Regions from separate parts of the Homo sapiens genome. Here all the other regions are linked to region 3. Evidence: promoter capture Hi-C in 16 types of primary human blood cells and fetal thymus (Javierre and others, 2016). All regions are on one chromosome and are shown on one strand. The core of a region is centred on a gene start or on the middle of the fragment in contact, and the rest is flanking DNA. Distances in the headings are between cores, read along the strand shown.

Region 1 (3,469 bases), core at 292-2,791, 350 kb before region 3:
TGTCAACTCAGTAAAACAACAACAAAGTTCCCTGAGACTCTCTCAGTTATGATTTTACTCCCGAAGCAGTCACTGTCTTGGAAGGATGACTGGCTCTCAGGAGGCTGCCTCAAACGATGCATGTGAAATTCATGTAGGCTTCCAGTGTGTGTGTATGTGTGTTTTGGGGTTGTGTTTCCTGCTGTTTATAACAGGAGGATAGTCTGGTCAACCAGAACAAGGAGACCAAGCCAACAGACATCACCATCAGCAAAGGGACGGTATAATGGCGGTTGGCAAGGCAAATGAGGGCTAGTAAAGGAAATGCAATTATAGTGAGGGTGAAGATTAAATCTCTATGCAGGAATATTGCAGATAAAATAAATGAAAACAATTATATCTTTTTTTTCTTTTATAGAGAGGGGGTTGCGGTATGTTACCCAGGCTGGTCCTGAACTCTGGGTCTCAAGCAATTCTCCCGTCTTGCCTTCTAGTGTTGGGATTGCAGGCATGAGCCACCGGGCCTGGCCTGAAAATATTTTATATTGAATAAAAAATTACAACATAGAGTTCAATTGGAAACATTATTGTGAACCCATAAGCTTTAAGAGAAATATAATTTCCTGGCTCTGACCCTAAAATACAGTTCATTAACAGCATTTCTTTTTCTTTTTCTTTTTTCTTTTTTTGAAATGGAGTCTCGCTCTGTTGCCAGGCTGGACTGTAGTGGCTCAATCTTGGCTCACTGAACCTCTGCCTCCCAGGTTCAAGTGATTCTCCTCCCTCAGCCTCCTGAGTAGCTGGGATTATAGGCATCTGCCTAATTTTTGTATTTTTAGTAGAGATGGGGTTTCACCATAATGGCCAAGCTGGTCTTGAGCTCCTGACCTCATGATCCACCTGCCTCAGCCTCCCAAAGTACTGGGATTACAGGCGTGAGCCACCATGCCCTGGCCACAGCATTTCTTTTCCTTCTTCTTTTTTTTTTTTTCCTTTTTGAGATGAAGTCTCTCTCTGTTGCCCAGGCTGGAGTGCAGTGGCATGATCTCAGCTCACTGCAACCTCCGCCTCCTGGGTTCAAGCAATTCTCCTGGCTCAGCCTCCTGAGTAGCTGGGATTACAGGCACACACCACCACGCCCAGCTAATTTTTTGTATTTTTAGTAGATATGGGGTTTCCCCATGTTGGCCAGGCTGGTCTCGAACTCCTGACCTCAGGTGATCCTCCTGCCTCAGCCTTCCAAAGTGTTGGGATTACAGGCTAGGCCACTGCACCTAGCCCATTAACAGCATTTCTTCTGCTAACCTCCCACTCTCGTGCACCCATCAAAAGGAAATGAGACTTCTTAGTGGGTGGCTGATTCTGTGTCTTGGAACAAGGAAAATTTGGAATGGGCCTAGAACACAAGGATTTTAGGCCAGCAATGGTAGAAGGATAAGGAAGCCACTGTCCAAATTGCAACAATTTGACATCAAAAAAGGAACATAGTAATTATGTTTATTTATAATTGACAATTATGATTAAAATAAGTTCAGTGTGTGAAAGACCTCAAAATAAAAAAAAGTTGATATATGATTTTCTGATATATGACATATGATTTTTCTCTGCTTTTATGATATTTGAAGCATCATAAAGGGGACGCGGAGCTGGAGTGTCACAGGGGCTGAGGCAATGTAATTGGTTAAGCCACCAGTAGGGTGTGTGATCACCAACAAAAAGAAAAAGTCCTACACTGAAAGCCCATGGGGTTGAAGCAGGATTTGGTTCACGCTAGAACTTCTGAGAGTCAGTGTGTATCTTGATAAACAGCAACAGAGCTTAGTCATGAGTTCCCTGTAACTGGCTGCTCAGAGAGTTTGCTCCCCACCTCCTGGGGAGAACTTACCTGGGAAGAGGCCAATGTTTCTATCTAAGCCTGTCCCGTCCTCTGAGTTTCCAACCTTCTAATTTCACGTTGGGAGTGCCTCCGAACATGTTTTTGCTGAGTCATTTGTGGAGCTCTAGAATTGTTGAACCTATCATTTGTTTTCCAAGTTAGGGGCAAACAGTAATATATTGCTCATTTATTATTCAACCAAGATATCTGGAGTCCTCCTCATGTGTTAGGCCAGGGCTAGGCACAGGGTTTAAGTGCAAGAGTGAGCAAAGCAGGCATGGAGCTGCACTCATGGGGCCTAGTCTAGTGGGGAAGACGGACATGATCCAAATAATCACAAAGTGACGTTTGGTAGAGAGCAAAGTAAAAGGGGTGCTTTGGCAGGCCCAGAAGAGGAACTTGATCATGACTCATGGTGGGTGGGCAGGGAGGCTTCCTTGAGAAAGTGATACCAATGTGGAGGACTGAATTATGTGAAGAGGCAGAAGAGTGTTCTAAGAAGGGGGGTGTGTAAAAGCCCAAGCTCGGAGGAGGGCTGGAGTGTGTTGCATTGGAGGAACCAAGATGACATTGGCTGTGCTTTGTGGAATGAGGTGAAGGAGACCAGGTGAGGTGCGGTAGACAAGGTCCAGCTGAGGTAAGCTTTCAGAGGCCATATAAAGATTTTTTTTTTTTTGGTAAGAGCATTATTGAGATATAATTCACACACCACAAAATTCACACATTTAAAATGCACAATTTGGTAGCCAGTTGAGGTAGCTCATGCCTGTAATCCCAGCACTTTGGGAAGCAGAGACAGGTGGATCACTTGAGGCCAGGAGTTCAAGACCAGCCTGGCCAACATACTGAAACCCCGTCTCTACTAAAAATACAATTAGTTGGGTATGGTGGCACATGCCTGTAATCCCAGCTACTTGGGAGGCTGAGGCAGGAGAATCACTTGAATCCAGGAGGTGGAGGTTGCAGTGAGCTGAGATTGCGCCACTGCACTCCAGTCTGGGGCAACAGAGAGAGACTCCATCTCAAAAAGAAAAAAAAAAGAAAAGAAAAGAAAAGAAATGCTGTGGCTGGGGTGCGGTGGCTCACACCTGTAATCCCAGCACTTTGGGAGGCCAAGGTGGGTGGATCACTTGAAGTCAGGAGTTTGAGACCAGCCTGGCCAACATTGTGAAACGCCATCTCTACTAAAAATATAAAAATTAGCCTGGTGTGGTGGTGGGTGCCTGTAATCCCAGCTACTCGGGAGGCTGAGGCAGGAGAATTGATTGAACCTGGGAGGCGGAAGTTGCAGTGACCTGAGATCACACCATTGCACTCCAGCCTGGGGGATGAGAGCAAAACTCTGTCTCAAAAAAATAAAATAAAATAAATAAATAATGTACAATTCAGCCGGGCATGGTGGCTCATGCCTATAATCCCAGCACTTTGGGAAGCCAAGGTGGGAGGATTGCTTGAGGCCAGGAGTTTGAGATCAGCCTGAGCAACACAGTGCAACTTCATCTCTATGAAAAATTAAAAAGTTACCCAGGCATTGTGGTATCTACCTGTATTCCCAACTACTCTGGAGGCTAAGTTGGGAGGATCTCTTGAGCCCAGGAGGTTGAGGCTGCAGTG
Region 2 (3,603 bases), core at 163-2,662, 370 kb before region 3:
CCTGGGTCTCATGTCTGTGTCCTTTGTTGTAGGAAGGAGGGTGATTCAGAGTTCATGAATATCATTGCCAATGAGATTGGGTCAGAGGTAAGAGGAGCATGAGATTCTCTACCCCGGCCTGGATAGAGACCTAGGGAGACATAAGTGAGGGGCGCTAGTTTAGCCAAAGTCCCTCCACATGAACACATGAGGAGGAGGAAATAGCCATTCATTCAATACTGTTTTCTTAGTACTAGCTATATGCCAAGCTCTGTTTTAGGTGTTGAGCTAGATCTATGTTATTGCTCTCTCTGGGGCTGTGATGTTTATTAGCTTCTGAGCTCCTTTCATCAGAGCTCTAGCTCCTCAAAGCCATTCAGGTTTATGTGTGCTGGGGATCCAATATTAGAAATATATCAGTGGGCTGGTCGCGGTGGCTCACGCATGTAATCCCAGCACTTTGGGAGGCCAAGGTGGGTGGATCACTTAAGATCAGGAGACCAGCCTAGCCAACATGGTGAAACCCCATCTCTACTAAAAATAGAAAAATCAGGCCAGGCATGGTGGCTCACGCCTGTAATTCCAGCACTTTGGGAGGCTGAGGCGGGTGGATTGCCTCAGCTCAGGAGTTCGAGACCACCCTGGGCAACATGGTAAAACCCTATCTCTACTAAAATACAAAAAATTAGCTAGGCGTGGTGGCATGCGCCTGTAATCCCAGCTACTCGGGAGGCTGAGGCATGAGAATCTCTTGAGCCTGGTAGGCAGAGGTTGCAGTGAGCTGAGATTGTGCCACAGCACTCTAGCATGGGCTACAGAGTGAGATTCTGTCTCAAAACAGAAGACAAAAATTTGCTGGGTGTGGTGGCAGGTGCCTGTAGACCCAGCTACTTGGGAGGTTGAGGCAGGAGAATTGCTTGAACCCTGGAGGCTGAGGTTGCAGTGAGCCGAGATTGCGCCACTGCACTCCAGCCTGGGCAACACAGACTGTCTCCAAAAAAAAAAAAAAAAAGTAAATACAGGAGTGGGCAAGCCCCTTTGAAAGCCATCCCCGTCCATTTTCCTCTTCCTCTGGCTTTACTTACTCTTCCCACTCCTGATGGTCTCTAGCCTAGAGATTTCCAGGTCTTTTGTTTGTTTGTTTGTTTGTTTGTTTTTTTCAGAGACAGAGTCTTGCTCTGTCACCCAGGCTGGAGTACAGTGGCGTGATTATGGCTCACTGCAGTCTTGAACTCCTGGGCTCAAGCAGTCCTCCCACGTCAGCCTCCTGAGTAGTTGGGACTGCAAGCATGAGCCACCATGCCCCACTATCTCTTTTGTATTTACTCCAGAACCCTTCTTTGGAATGCCTACTGTGGGTAAAGCGTTGTGTATCTCTCTTTTCATAATTCTTCTGTATAGACAGAACTGATTCTCAAGAAGCTCATATTCTAGTCTGGGAGACAAATATGTATGTCGACATTTATAATTCAGAATGATAGAGTGATGAATGCTAGAGGTGGAGGAGCACATTACCTGAAGGATAGGGAGGTTTCAGGGGAGGGGCCCTTGAAGACTGCTTAGAGGTCATCAGACAGACAAGGGGCAGAGGCGGCCAGGCAGAGGGAAACCTGGTGGTTTAGGCAGTGGCAGGGAAAGGATGTGTGGTGGGGAAAAGTTTGCAAGAGTGAAACCATGAAAGGCATTTTCTGCTTAGCCAGGATCAGCAGTCTTCTGCTGCCTTCTTAATGTTTCACCTAAGTTCCCATAGTTGCTCTCAAAAAGTTTCTTGGCCCTCGTGGGCCAGTGTGGAGGGGCTGTATCATCATTCATCAGGAGCGTCACTTGGTGGTTTAGGGGGAAATAATCTATTCTTAAGATTGAAGAGAGTGCAGGATTTGGGGGGTTGACTCTACATCCTTCAGTATCAGAGCTTATCTCCTTGTCTTACCTCCTAGGAGACCCTCCTGTTCTTAACTGTGGGCGATGAGAAAGGTGGTGGACTCTTCTTACTGGCAGGGCCACCTGCGTCTGTGGAGACCCTGGGGCCCAGGTAATTCTTTGTGGACTCTCTTGCACATGTAGTAGAGCCTGTATCCTACAAATACATTCCTTTACTGAGTCAAAGGACCATCACATCTGCGATCTCATTTAATTCACATCATGGGCATGTGAGGTGGGCTGAGCAGAGATAATTATTACTACTGTCATTTCCAGTTTGACAGTTGAAGGTCTTTTGGCTCCACATCTCACATGTATGTTTTTGTTTTTGTTTTTATGAAATGTGTTTGTTTTTGTTTTTTGAGATGGAGTCTTAGTCTGTTGCCCAGCCTGGAGAGCCCAGGCTACTCAGCTCACTGCAGCCACCACCTCCCAGGTTTAAGCAATTTTCCTGCCTCAGCCACTCAAGTAGCTGGGATTACAGGTGCACATAACCATACCCGTCCAATTTTTTGTATTTTTAGTACAGATAGGGTTTCACCATGTTGGCCAGGCTGGTCTCGAACTCCTGACCTCAAGTGATCCACCTGCCTTGCCCTCCCAAAGTGCTGGGATTACAGGTGCTCACCCTGCTCTCTGGAGATTAACATAATTTATCTAGCCCAATTCATAGACACTGATGTTGTTTCCAGTTATTCACTCTTATGTGATGATGGTACATATATCTTTGTGCATATGTGCAAGTGTTTTTTTGAGACAAAGTTTCACTCTTGTTGCCCAGGCTGGAGTGCAATGGCACCATCTCGGCTCACTGCAACCTCTGCCTCCCGGGTTCAAGCAATTCTCCTGTCTCAGCTTCCTGAGTAGCTGGGATTATGGCGCATACCACCATGCCCGGCTGATTTTTTTATTTTTAGTAGAGACGGGGTTTCATCCTATTGGTCAGGCTGGTCTTGAAGTCCTGACCTCAGGTGATCCACCCACTTTGGCCTCCCAAAGTGCTGGGATTACAGGTGTGAGCCACCATGCCCAGCCTATGTGCAAGTGTTTTCAAGAAAGATTCCTAGAAGTCATCTACTCTTCTTATCCCTCTCCCAGTCCCTGGAAAAAGACTCAGAGCTGCCCTTGTTTTTTTTTGTGACTTTTCCCTCAAAGTCTCCCTGACTATACCTCTGTTCCCCAGGGTGGCTGAGGTCCTGGAAGGCAAAGGAGCAGGGAAGAAAGGCCGTTTTCAGGGCAAGGCCACCAAGATGAGCCGGCGGATGGAGGCGCAGGCGCTTCTCCAGGACTACATCAGCACGCAGAGTGCTAAGGAGTGAGGGCTTAGGGCACTCACCTCCTGTTTCCACAGGAATCTTTTGGTCAATAAAATAGATTGACTCAGAATGGTTGCGCTACCACTTGTATTTATATGACTAATTCGTACTGTATACTCCATTGTGCTTGTGTGGTTACTTTCCGTTTATAAATAGATAATTTTCTAATTTAGTTCATGCACTGTAATGTTTAGAAGGTGGTGGATTAATTTATACCAAACCTTGTGCTTTTGCACTCAGTTGGATAAGAAATGAACATCTGATCAGCTGAGTCCACTGCTCCCATAATTTTGTTATAATCCACAAAGGCACATGGCTTTTTCCCGCCCCTACCGCCCCACCCCCTGAGATGGACTCTTGCTTTGTTGCCCAGGCTGGATATAGTGGT
Region 3 (3,858 bases), core at 410-2,909:
ACCCCTATTTTTACTTCGTGATGGCCAGAACATCACCATAGTATGAGGCTACTTTCCTTCTTGTGAGAGCCCCACCATCAGTATAACTGGCACTCTTGGCTAGTATTTAGCCTGTATTTCCTTCATTTCTAATTTCTTTTTTTTTCCTGAGACGGAGTCTTGGTCTGTCGCCCAGGCTGGAGTGCAGTGGTGCGATCTCTCACTGCAAGCTCCGCCTCCCGGGTTCACGCCATTCTCCTGCCTCAGCCTCCTGAGTAGCTTGGACTACAGGCGCCCACCAGCACGCCTGGCTAATTTTTTGTATTTTTAGTAGAGATGGGGTTTCACAGTGTTAGCCAGGATGGTCTCGATCTCCTGACCTCGTGATCCGCCCGCCCTGGCCTCCCAAAGTGCTGGGATTGCAGGCGTGAGCCACCGCGCTCGGCCCTTTCATTTCTAATTCTTAATATTGTCTCCTAAACGTGCAGAGACAAGCACACGTTTTAAAGGCTAAGGAGGTTGTAGGTAGCAGAAGGCTTTAAAAAGTAGCACCTTACTCCTTCACTGGATGGTCTGAGCTGCAGGGACAGCTGCTCTTTGGCCTTCAGCTCACCTCAGAAACTAGAAATATTTATTTCAGGCTCTGTCCCATTGGCCACTGTGGTCAGGGGTGGAAAGCACCTGCCAGGTGTTGCCCTGAGATTGTCTGGGCTAACAAACTTTTCCACAAGCTTTGTGGTTGAACAGTAGCCCCCTCCTAACCCTATCGTTCCTTGGCGTCCAAACTACAGTAGGTGTCGAGTGCCCCCTGGGTGCGAAGCTCGGTATTAGGCAAATAAGGGTGGTTGCTCTCCAAGGCGCTTAGCTGTCCCCCCTTCCCACTTTTTTTTTTTTTGTTCGAGACTGCGTCTCGCTCTGTCGCCAGGATGGGGTGCAGTGGCGCGCTCATAGTGGCTCACTGCAGCCTCGATGTCCGGGGCTCTGGTGACCCTCCCACCTCAGCCTCCAGAGTAGCTGGGACCACAGAAGCGCGCCACCACTCTTAATTTTTTGTACTTTATTTGCAGAGATGGGGTTTCATATTGCCCAGACTGGTTTCGAATTCCTGGGCTCAAACGATCCGCCCGCCTCAGCCTCCCAAAGTGATAGAATTGCAGGGGTGACATGCCACTGCGCCCGACCAAGGCGCTTAGCTTTCTATTAAGTTTTCACAACCACTTTCCTACCACTATCTACTGTTCCTATTTTACAAATGACAAAACTAACCGACAAAAGAGCACTGGACCGTGGGACCAGAGCACGTCCCTGTGGGGTAACCTTGAGCTGGTCGCTTGCCCAGGGCGGCAGCGGATGTCTGAAGCGTCTTCCAATCCCAACATTAGACTTAATTCAAGGTCACCAGTGCTCAGCTGCGGCTGGAACTGGGTCTCGAAACTTGAAGGCCTTCTCTGCTACAGCCTTCGTTCCCGGGAGCAGAAAGAGGAAGTTTCTTAGCCGTGGGCACGCCGGCGCCTTCGCAGAGGCCCATGGCTTGAGGTCCGGCCCGAATGCGCAAGTTCCGACCTGAAATGAACTATGGAGTCCGGGAGGGGTCGCTTTGCTCCTCCGGAAGGCTTCCCCTTCAGCCAATCACCGTTCGAGGCCCGCCCCCGTCGCCGGAAGGAGCCGTCGCCCCGAGCAACTACAACGTCCGGCTTTCTGAGTTGGGTGGCGGGAAAGGCGATGAGTAAAGGCCGGGCAGAAGCTGCGGCGGGAGGTAACGGCGCCGTGGGCGCGGGGAAGACCCGGGAGGGCAGTGGGTGAGGAGGTCGGTTGAGTGGCCCCCTCCCCTGCCTTTCTCTCCGTAGCCGCCGGGATCCTCCTGAGGTACCTGCAGGAGCAGAACCGGCCCTACAGCTCCCAGGATGTGTTCGGGAACCTACAGCGGGAACACGGACTGGGCAAGGCGGTGAGGACCTTCTCCCGGGATTCCCTCTCCGTCGGACTCCCTGGATTCAGGCTGGGGTCGTGCCCTTTGGAGCCTTGGGCGTTTTCCACATCACTGGCTGGATTTCCCCAGACCCAGGCTCAGACTCCTCTGATTGCTCCTTCTCTCTCCTCTGCCAGGTGGTGGTGAAGACGCTGGAGCAGCTGGCGCAACAAGGCAAGATCAAAGAGAAGATGTACGGCAAGCAGAAGATCTATTTTGCGGATCAGGTGAGGAGAACTTGCGCCGATTGTCACCCATGAGAGCCCGACAACGGGTGAATCTACTCCTGGTGTGAACTCTTTGGGGACAAGGCCCCCCATGGAAAACTCACCTGTCTTAGGCCACCATCCTTAAATCAAGGTGTGTACTCCTCTTGTTAGGATCCCAACTTCACGAGGTTTCCAGATTTACAATATGATGGATGACAGAAGATTCTGTATTGTTGCTACCAAGATCCATTTCCGCTCCAAAGCTCTTATTCCTTATCATCTACATTAGCAACACCCTCTGCCAAATGATGTTCCTCCTGCCTCCATCCGATTCTCTAAACACACATATCAAATTTATATTCTCCAGCCCAGACCTCCAGCTGGAATCTGTCAGGCATTAATATCAGAGTCAAAATTGCCACAGTAGAATGCCTCATCTTCCCCCCACCCCGGACTGGTTTCTTTCTAACATTCTCCTCCCCTAATGGAATTACTCTTCACCCAAACCAGAAATTGGGAGCAATTCTTGACTTCCTTTACTAGTCAACCATCAAGTCCAGCTGATTTTTCCGTTTTTATTTATTTTTTTAATTTTTATAGAGATGGGTCTTACTGTGCTGCCCAGGTTGGTCCCAACTCCTGGGCTCAAGTGATCCTCCTGTCTTGGCCTCCCAAAGTGCTGGGAGGACAGGCGTGAACCACAGAGCCTGGCTAATTTTTCCATTCTTGAATCCACTCTCCTTTCCATCTGCCATGGTTGCTCTAGTTCACGCCCTCTTTATTTGTTGCAGTATCCTCCTAACAGATCTTGGCTCTTCAAACATATCTTAAACTCTTAAACATTGCAGTCAGAATGATCTGTCTAAATAGATCTGGTCATGCACCTTCCCTATTTAAAACTCTTCAATGGCTCTCTAGTGCTGCAAAAAACATGTAAAAGGCACCGGAAGACGCCCCAGCCAGCCTCTGGCCTCACCAATCCTCATTATTTTTCTATCCACGAACACTAGATAATTCTGGTGTGTTTTACTGCTCTGTCCTTTGCATGTTGTCTTCCCTGTACCTGCTTCTCTTCCTGGCCAGCTCTTTCTTTCCTTGAGGATTTCACTTAGACATCACCTTTTCCAGAAATCTTCCTTGAATGCTCCGAGCTAATTGTTTCTTTTTCAGGCCCTTATCTCTTTTTGTTATTGTTGTTGTTGTTGTTGTTGAGACGGAGTCTCGCTCTGTCACCCAGGCTGGAGTGCAGTGGCACAATCTCGGCTCACTATAAGCTCCACCTCCTGGGTTCACGCCATTCCCCCGCCTCAGCCTCCCAGAGTAGCTGGGACTACAGGCACCCGCCACGAAGCCTAATTTTTTTTTTTTTTTTTTTTTGGTATTTTTAGTAGAGATGGGGTTTCATCGTGTTAGCCAGGATGGTCTTGATCTCCTGACCTCGTGATCCACCCGCCTCGGCCTCCCAAAGTGCTGGGATTACAGGCATGAGCCACTGTGCCCAGCCTGGCCCTTACCTCTTTTGAGGCATGCTGTATTACAATTTTTACTTGTCTCCTTTATTCAACTGAAGTTCCTCTAGGGCAGACCCCATTTCTCAATTCATTTTTATCTGATCAGCACCTCCGCAGTATCTAACATCCAGCAGATATTACTCGTTAAACTGAACCAAACCACTTTTAAGGCTGACTTTCCTAAAACAGG
Region 4 (3,507 bases), core at 334-2,833, 280 kb before region 3:
GGTGACCTAGCCTGCAGAAATAGGCTCCAGACACCCCCGAGCAAAGTTAAAAGAAGAACAAATTCCTTTGCTGTCTCCCCTTTAAATAATTAATTATGACTATGTTTGCCAACACTTGTATTCAGTAAAATTTATAAGTTTCTGTTTTACAAGTTATGCCAAGTCAACAGTTATGCTATAGATTATGTGACTTGTCACTACATAGTTTACTGCCTTTGTCCTGTTTCTGTGTACTAGCCTGTATAAGCTAAACTCTGTCTTTGTTCAGTGCTCAGCTTTTTAGCTGTGAGTCCACTGAGCTGGTACACACCTAATAAATATCCTCCTGTATTCACCCATACTAGTCTCTCTAGTCCTCTGTGTCCTGCAACAGTTGTGTGACCTTTAGGATAAAGGAAATAAAATCTAATGTCAAGGCCTAGCCACAAGGCAATCCATCCCAGCCAGGGAACTTGTGTCTGGTCCTTTGGTAGGTTATGGTCAATAGCGGGGAAGTTACCTCCAGCTCTTGGCTAAGAACATGCCATTAAGACAACTAATGTTGGGGCTGGGCACAGTGGCTCACGCCTGTAATCCCAGCACTTTGGGAGGCCAAGATGGGCAGATCACTTGAGGTCAAAGGTTCAAGAACAGACTGACCAACATGGTGAAACCCCATCTCTACGAAAAATACAAAAATTAACTGGGCATGGTGGTGGGCACCTGTAATCCCAGCTACTCAGGAGGCTGAGGCAGGAGAATTGCTTCAACCTGGGAGGCAGAAGTTGCAGTGAGCTGAGATCACACCACGGCACTCCAGCCTGGGTGACAGAGCGAGACTCTGTCTCAAAAGAAAAAAAAAGACAACTAATGTTGACCAGGTGCAGCAGCTCACACCTGTAATCCCTTCATTTTGGGATGCCAAGAGTCGAGAATCACATGAGCCTAGGAGTTCAAGACCAGCTTGGACAATATAGAGATCTCTACAAAAAATTAAAAAAAAATTAGCCAGGCACATCCTAGCTACTTGGGAGGGTGAGGCGGGAGGATTGCTTGAGCCCAGGAGTTCAAGGCTGCAATAAACTATGATTGTGCCACTGCACTTCAGCCTAGGTGACAGAGCAAGACCTTGTCACTAAAAAAAGAAAAAACAGAGAAAAGATTTATTTTGGTTGAGTGTGGTGCCTCATGCCTGTAATTCCAGCACTTTGTGAGGAAGAGACAGGAGAATGGCTTGAGCCCAGGAGTCCAAGACCACTCTGGGCAACATAGCAAGGCCTCATCTCTACAATAACTTAAAAAATACATATATATATAGGCTGGCGTGGTGGCTCATACCTGTAATCCTAGCACTTTGAGAGGCCAAGATGGGCAGATTCCTTGAGCTCAGGAGTTCAAGACCAGCCTGGGCAACATGGCAAAACCCTATCTACCAAAAATATAAAAAATTAGCCAGGTATAGTGGTGCATGCCTGTGGTCCCAGCTTCTTGGGAGGCTGAAGTGGGAGGATCACTTGAGCCCACAGGGTGGAGTTTGCAGTGAGCCAAGATTGCACCCCTACACTGAAGCCTGGGCAATACAGTGAGAACCTCTCTCAAAAACAAAACAAAACACCAAAAACATACGTGTAGAAAGAGATTTGGCCAATGACAAATATTGACAGTTAAAGTAAGAAAGGCTGGCTGGGCGTGGTGGCTTACACCTGTAATCCCAGCACTTTGGGAGGCTGAGGTGGGAGGATCACTTGAGCCCAGGAGTTTGAGACCAGGCAACAGAGCGAGACATGGTCTCTACAAAAAAAATTTTTTTTTGAGACAAAGTTTCACTCTTGTTGCCTAGGCTGGAGTGCAGTGATGTGATCTCGGCTCACTGCAACCTCCACCTCCCAGGTTCAAGCGATTCTCCTGCCTCAGCCTCCGGAGTAGCTGGGATTACAGGCACCCGCCACCATGCCCAGCTAATTTTTTGTATTTTTAGTAGAGATGGGGTTTCATCACGTTGGCCAGGCTGGTCTTGAACTCCTGACCTCAGGTGATCCACCTGCCTCGGCCTCCCAAAGTGCTCCAATTACAGGCATGAGCCACCGCGCCTGGCCTACAAAAAATTTTTTTTAATTAGCCAGGCATGGTGGCACACGCCTGTAATTCCAGCTGCTCGGGAGGCTGAGGTGGGAGGATCGCTTCAGTCTGGGAGGTTGAGGCTGCAGTGAGCCATGGTGGTACCACTGCACTCCAGCCTGGGTGACAGAGCAAGACCTTTTCTTAAGGGGGGAAAAAAAGAAAAAGAAAGAAGAAAAGAAAAAAAGAAAGAAAGAAAGGCTGAGATCACCCACAGAGGACTTCTGGAGAGAGGAGAAAGGAGGACCAAGGACAGAACCCTAGAAAAGGCAAGAGCTTGGGGCTCCATGAGTAGGTAGGGGGAGCAGAAGTCAAGGAGCCTGAGAAGACTGAGAAGGAGCAAATATGGATGAAAAGGGGACAATGTGGGAGAGTCAAGATGGGAGAGGGTTCCAAGAGGGAGGACAGTTGGTGTTGTCAAACGCCACCGAGAGGTCCAGAAAGTAGGCGGCCAGGAGCTCCTGTTGATTTTGTGTTTAAGAAGTCACTGGGGGCCGGGTGCTGTGGCTCACACCTGTAATCCCAGCACTTTGAGAGGCCAAGGCAGGCGGATCACTTGAGGTCAGGAGTTCGAGACCAACCTGGCCAACATGGTGAAACCCCGTCTCTACTAAAACTACAAAATTAGCCGGGCGTAGTGGCAGGTGCCTGTAATACCAGCTACTCAGGAGTCTAAGGCAGGAGAATCACTTGAACCCGGGAAGTGGAGGTTGCAGTGAGCCAAGATCATGCCATTGCACGCCAGCCTGGGCGACAAGAGTGAAATTCCATCTCAAAATAAAAAAAATAAAAGAGGTGAGGCGAGTGGGCACACCTCATGTCCTCACAGGGGGTTGCCATGTTCACATTCCTGGAGAAGTCCTAGTCATGCCCTCTGACCCAAGCCTCAGGGATTCCCTTGTCCAACTCCTTTATCTCAGGCCACTGGGCCCCAAGTCCTGAAGATCTGAGCCTTGGCAGCACCAGTTCCTTCAGAACCTGACATCCTCAGCCAGTAATCACTCCTAGACAATTGACCACAAGTCTGAAGCCAAGACTCCAGACAACTTCTGTGGTCTAAGGAAGAGATTGGATTGGGGTGTGGGGCTGGAGGTCCACCTTGCGGCCCTCCTGACCCGAGCTGAACTGATGTTCTAACAATCTAGATGTCCATTCTGCCTCCCCTCATCTGGGGCCTGGGGCAGGTGGCATCATCACCATGCTGAGATATAAGGAAGCAGACACAACCAGTCACGTTTTCATATAAAAGCTTGTGAGAATTGACATACAACTACACACACAACACATACAAACACTTTGGTCTGGAGATGGGTTTCAAGGCAACTAAATTCCAGTGAACAAGATGGTGAGGGTGCGGGGGTGGATATCTGAATTCCTTTGCTCCCCTTCCCCCAGCACTGATGATGGTGC

Evidence for each region. Contacts are between HindIII fragments. The CHiCAGO score rates a contact against its expected background, and 5 or more counts as called.
Region 1: a fragment that was not itself captured here is called in contact with the fragment with the promoter of PSMC3IP in region 3 in 5 of 17 cell types (megakaryocytes, erythroblasts, endothelial precursors and 2 more); the score reaches 12.4 in megakaryocytes.
Region 2: a contact is called between a fragment that was not itself captured here and the fragment with the promoter of PSMC3IP in region 3, in 2 of 17 cell types (endothelial precursors and megakaryocytes). The highest score is 6.1, in endothelial precursors.
Region 4: a contact is called between a fragment that was not itself captured here and the fragment with the promoter of PSMC3IP in region 3, in 1 of 17 cell types (megakaryocytes). The highest score is 5.3, in megakaryocytes.

Annotation. Positions count from the first base shown.
Region 1 is chr17:42,927,640-42,931,108 of GRCh38, reverse strand. No RefSeq gene overlaps it. Among named protein-coding and RNA genes, the nearest start is that of G6PC1, 29 kb to the right of the region's middle. RefSeq lists enhancers at 2,045-2,194, 2,084-2,660. The HindIII fragment of the contact is 1,916 bases long and covers 584-2,499 here.
Region 2 is chr17:42,950,208-42,953,810 of GRCh38, reverse strand. It overlaps PTGES3L-AARSD1 (PTGES3L-AARSD1 readthrough), which reads left to right. Exons shown (of 17, transcript NM_001136042.2): 15 at 33-87; 16 at 1,917-2,011; 17 at 3,083-3,285. The coding sequence ends at 3,218. AARSD1 (alanyl-tRNA synthetase domain containing 1) reads left to right here. Exons shown (of 12, transcript NM_001261434.2): 10 at 33-87; 11 at 1,917-2,011; 12 at 3,083-3,285. The coding sequence ends at 3,218. Among named protein-coding and RNA genes, the nearest start is that of AARSD1, 12 kb to the left of the region's middle. The HindIII fragment of the contact is 8,438 bases long and covers 1-3,603 here.
Region 3 is chr17:42,575,530-42,579,387 of GRCh38, reverse strand. PSMC3IP (PSMC3 interacting protein) reads left to right here and starts at 1,659. Exons shown (of 8, transcript NM_016556.4): 1 at 1,659-1,735; 2 at 1,827-1,927; 3 at 2,086-2,175. The coding sequence starts at 1,702. RefSeq lists an enhancer at 1,308-1,397 and a silencer at 1,698-1,747. The HindIII fragment of the contact is 6,888 bases long and covers 713-3,858 here.
Region 4 is chr17:42,859,233-42,862,739 of GRCh38, reverse strand. No RefSeq gene overlaps it. Among named protein-coding and RNA genes, the nearest start is that of AOC3, 9.8 kb to the right of the region's middle. The HindIII fragment of the contact is 3,530 bases long and covers 1-3,348 here.